Regions from separate parts of the Homo sapiens genome. Here region 2 is linked to region 1. The links are contacts of gene promoters, found by promoter capture Hi-C in blood cells and fetal thymus (Javierre and others, 2016). All regions are on one chromosome and are shown on one strand. The core of a region is centred on a gene start or on the middle of the fragment in contact, and the rest is flanking DNA. Distances in the headings are between cores, read along the strand shown. Region 1 holds the start of TTR (transthyretin). Region 2 has its middle 80 kb from the start of DSC3.

The links. Contacts are between HindIII fragments. The CHiCAGO score rates a contact against its expected background, and 5 or more counts as called.
Region 2: a fragment that was not itself captured here is called in contact with the fragment with the promoter of TTR in region 1 in 1 of 17 cell types (monocytes); the score reaches 5.2 in monocytes.

What each region holds. Positions count from the first base shown.
Region 1 is chr18:31,590,484-31,593,126 of GRCh38, forward strand. It overlaps TTR (transthyretin), which reads left to right and starts at 1,394. Exons shown (of 4, transcript NM_000371.4): 1 at 1,394-1,488; 2 at 2,413-2,543. The coding sequence starts at 1,420. The HindIII fragment of the contact is 4,728 bases long and covers 814-2,643 here.
Region 2 is chr18:30,961,193-30,963,835 of GRCh38, forward strand. No RefSeq gene overlaps it. Among named protein-coding and RNA genes, the nearest start is that of DSC3, 80 kb to the right of the region's middle. The HindIII fragment of the contact is 439 bases long and covers 1,118-1,556 here.

The sequences.
Region 1 (2,643 bases), core at 144-2,643:
ATTCTTAGTGCTCCAAACCGGACTTGCTCTTGGCTTGTATTTGTCCAAAATATTTGTCTTCTCTATGTTTTCTACATGTTTGTCTTATAAGGACAAAAACCTGCCTTAGTTTATCCATGAACAAAGCCACGCATGCTAGTGGACACACACACACATGCGCGTGCGCGCGCACACACACACACACACACATACACACAGAGACTTTGTATGTGAGTAATGAATCATCAAATCATCATAATTTCTGGACTTGTATTAATAAGTCGGCCAGGAGGAAAAGAATCTGCTGTCAATCATGGCTTCTGGTTCTCACAGTCATCTCTACTTTCTTCCAGCAAGTTTGGTTCTGTCAAAAACCAGCTGTCAGCCTTGTTCCTGCATGCCCAATGCAGAAGAGTCAGTAAAGAAGATTTGGTTCTCTGTATTTCAGGGGCATCAATGCCAGGTTGAAATATGCCATTCTGGCCCAGCTCAGTGGCTCACACGTGTAATCCCAGCACTTTGGAAGGCCAAAGCGGGTGGATTGCTTGAGCTCAGGAGTTCGAGACCAGCCTGGGCAAGAGGCTGAGGTGGGAGGATGACCTGAGCCCGGGAGGTCAAGGCTGCAGCGAGCTGTGATCGTGCCACTGCACTCGAGCCAGGGCGTTGGAGTGAGACCCTGTCAAAAAAAAAAAAAAAAAGGAAGGAAAAAAGGAAGGAAGGAAGGGAGGGAGGGAAGATGCCATTCTTAGATTGAAGTGGACTTTATCTGGGCAGAACACACACACACATACACACATGCACACACACATTGTGGAGAAATTGCTGACTAAGCAAAGCTTCCAAATGACTTAGTTTGGCTAAAATGTAGGCTTTTAAAAATGTGAGCACTGCCAAGGGTTTTTCCTTGTTGACCCATGGATCCATCAAGTGCAAACATTTTCTAATGCACTATATTTAAGCCTGTGCAGCTAGATGTCATTCAACATGAAATACATTATTACAACTTGCATCTGTCTAAAATCTTGCATCTAAAATGAGAGACAAAAAATCTATAAAAATGGAAAACATGCATAGAAATATGTGAGGGAGGAAAAAATTACCCCCAAGAATGTTAGTGCACGCAGTCACACAGGGAGAAGACTATTTTTGTTTTGTTTTGATTGTTTTGTTTTGTTTTGGTTGTTTTGTTTTGGTGACCTAACTGGTCAAATGACCTATTAAGAATATTTCATAGAACGAATGTTCCGATGCTCTAATCTCTCTAGACAAGGTTCATATTTGTATGGGTTACTTATTCTCTCTTTGTTGACTAAGTCAATAATCAGAATCAGCAGGTTTGCAGTCAGATTGGCAGGGATAAGCAGCCTAGCTCAGGAGAAGTGAGTATAAAAGCCCCAGGCTGGGAGCAGCCATCACAGAAGTCCACTCATTCTTGGCAGGATGGCTTCTCATCGTCTGCTCCTCCTCTGCCTTGCTGGACTGGTATTTGTGTCTGAGGCTGGCCCTACGGTGAGTGTTTCTGTGACATCCCATTCCTACATTTAAGATTCACGCTAAATGAAGTAGAAGTGACTCCTTCCAGCTTTGCCAACCAGCTTTTATTACTAGGGCAAGGGTACCCAGCATCTATTTTTAATATAATTAATTCAAACTTCAAAAAGAATGAAGTTCCACTGAGCTTACTGAGCTGGGACTTGAACTCTGAGCATTCTACCTCATTGCTTTGGTGCATTAGGTTTGTAATATCTGGTACCTCTGTTTCCTCAGATAGATGATAGAAATAAAGATATGATATTAAGGAAGCTGTTAATACTGAATTTTCAGAAAAGTATCCCTCCATAAAATGTATTTGGGGGACAAACTGCAGGAGATTATATTCTGGCCCTATAGTTATTCAAAACGTATTTATTGATTAATCTTTAAAAGGCTTAGTGAACAATATTCTAGTCAGATATCTAATTCTTAAATCCTCTAGAAGAATTAACTAATACTATAAAATGGGTCTGGATGTAGTTCTGACATTATTTTATAACAACTGGTAAGAGGGAGTGACTATAGCAACAACTAAAATGATCTCAGGAAAACCTGTTTGGCCCTATGTATGGTACATTACATCTTTTCAGTAATTCCACTCAAATGGAGACTTTTAACAAAGCAACTGTTCTCAGGGGACCTATTTTCTCCCTTAAAATTCATTATACACATCCCTGGTTGATAGCAGTGTGTCTGGAGGCAGAAACCATTCTTGCTTTGGAAACAATTACGTCTGTGTTATACTGAGTAGGGAAGCTCATTAATTGTCGACACTTACGTTCCTGATAATGGGATCAGTGTGTAATTCTTGTTTCGCTCCAGATTTCTAATACCACAAAGAATAAATCCTTTCACTCTGATCAATTTTGTTAACTTCTCACGTGTCTTCTCTACACCCAGGGCACCGGTGAATCCAAGTGTCCTCTGATGGTCAAAGTTCTAGATGCTGTCCGAGGCAGTCCTGCCATCAATGTGGCCGTGCATGTGTTCAGAAAGGCTGCTGATGACACCTGGGAGCCATTTGCCTCTGGGTAAGTTGCCAAAGAACCCTCCCACAGGACTTGGTTTTATCTTCCCGTTTGCCCCTCACTTGGTAGAGAGAGGCTCACATCATCTGCTAAAGAATTTACA
Region 2 (2,643 bases), core at 87-2,586, 630 kb before region 1:
TGAATCACCCTGAAACCATCCTCTTTCACTGGTCTGTGGAAAAATTGTCCTCCACAAATCTGGTCCCTGTTGCCAAAAATGTTGGGGACCACTGATATAATATATTATTTCCTTCACAAACAAAAAAGCATTTTTTTCTAGAGTAAAAAAAAAAAATACCTGAGAAGTAAAATCTTTTCTAGTAATTTCTAAGCTAAATTATTTTATGTCCATGTAAATTATAATTATCCATCTAATAAATTCTAATACCTTAGATTTAATTGTTGTTCATTTTCTTAGTATTAACATTTCATTTTTATAATGATTATATATTAATGTTGTGACAAATTATGATGTTTCAATATACTTATATGAAATGTTTCCTTACCAACAAAGAAGTATTTCATAAAACCATTTTTGGCATTTATAATCAAATTAATGCAACAGTAAACACAATAGCATGTTCATAATTACTGTGATAAATGTGGTGTAATTGTAAGAGCTACTAGCATCTATCCTTGATACATTGTAATATTGCTATTAAGGAAACAAAAGATATTTTAAACACTTTCTAATTTTTAATTTCAATAAAGACTGAAAACTACTAAAATTGATTGTAATGTGAGCAAAACTACACTCCATTAGTTCTGCCCTGAATTAACTGTTTTCCAGTTGATTATACTTTTTCAGCTTTTATATCACTGAGAACTAAGCAATTGTTCAGTCCTGAAAGACCGTTTAAATTTGGTGGTTTCAATTGGTCATTTGTACTTACTAAATACAATTCTGAGTGTCTGTGTATAAATTGCAGTGATCATTTAGCAGCTGACTGGTGGGTCATCTATGCCCATAGTAGAAACAAACTCTTCAAATTAATCAATGGTCACAAGCACAGCCAGAAATAGAAGTTTAAACATAATTGGCTTAAACCATCTATATCTCAATCATAAAATGAATATGAATCATTACACCTTGAAGTGAGAAGTTGTCATTCATATCCAAGTATCCTAAAAGGTTGTCTACAAAATAAAAAAATTGGGTATTCCAAATCTTCAAAACAATCATTCTTCCTAGTCTATAGATGCCATGGTTATCCAAAGAAATACAGGAAGTTCTATTTAGTTTCATGCTGGAATTAAGCTTAATATTTCAACATTTCCCGTTACTCTTTCATTAGGAGCAACTAACCATAAGGAGTGGAAGATGTATCTTTGTCAATGAAGTAGGCATTCAGGGTACAAATGAGATATATGTTGGCAAATTATTAGAAAAGAACCAGGTGATAAGGATTTGAAAAACCTTGCTTTCTCCTTCCTAACATGGTTTAGCTCCAGCCTGAATATTTCTTGAGTTCTTGATGAAAGCAAAATTATATCAGTCAGTGATTCAGATATAACTTCATGTTTGGAGGAGAGAGTTGTTTCCTAACAGCCACCTGAAACTCTAAGCTAACTTGCTTCTCCCTATTATAAATATGGAATTCTACAAAATCATCTGTCTCCCCTGGACCCCTATCCTAGCTACAGTTTCATTGTCACTCTTCCAGGTCCTTCTGGTTTGATACTAGTATCTTTCCAAGCTTCTGTTTAGTCTCTTCAATCTTGAGACATTGTTTCCAGACGTTTCCCTCATTTCCCCTTCCTGTCTTAATTCACACTTCCTTCCAGGAATTATCCTAGCCATACACTTTCTGCTTATAATAATTCTGTCTTCCTTCAATAAGTTTTTGTGATATTATAAAAATAACATTCCTAAGATCAATATGTTCATCTAGATATAGATGAAGAAATCTGTTAACTTGTTAAAATAGGTATTTTGGTTTTCTTTGAATTGTGCAGAAGAAACAACGTTCCACCGCCTATAAAGCAGTGCTTCTCAAACCTGATTGTGTAGAGGAGAACAGATTTTTTTCTCACCCATCATAAGGTGCATTGCTGACTCCTCATGACAAAAGGCAGTTGTTCATGTCATGGCAGCCTTCAAAAATGAAGACAGAAAGACCCAGGGAAAACCATGTATTGTTATGGACAGTCATGCAGAAGTTTGAATGGTAAGAAATTGAAGGGAAGTTGACAAGGTTTGTTTGTCCAGATCCTTCTTGGTGTTTCTGAGTGACATGCCTTTCCTCCGGTTTTAGGGCAGGACACCTTTCAAATGAGGGTGTTCAGAGGAGAAGCAGCGGAATAGATGGGAGAGGTTTCCTAGGTCTTATGACCTGCTTCAGGGGATAATGGAGGAGGAAGAGTGAGAGTGGCCTTCCTGCTTCTGCTGGTTCCTCAAATGCCAAAGAGCCCTATTTTGGGGTAGCACTTTCTGCACCACATCAACCACACACAAGAAATACATGCTGGGGCCCAAGGCCCACCTCAGGGGCTCTGATTTAAATGACTTTGGGTGAAGCCCAGTCATCTGTATTTTTAAAGTGATTCTGATATACAATCAAGGACAAAAATCTGTTGTAATGTGTTAGATTATAGAACTCTGGGTAAAAAGAGCAGCCCTGAGTAAGGAAATTACTACCAGCTCAGGTTCAGTAGAGACAAAGAAAGTACTGAGAACAGATGTTCTGAGGTAGACTTGCATGAGAAGAGGCAACAAAAATAGTCAGGGAAGCTGGGAACCAGGGAACAGGGTAGACTGTCAATGTTGAAAGAATTTAAAGGC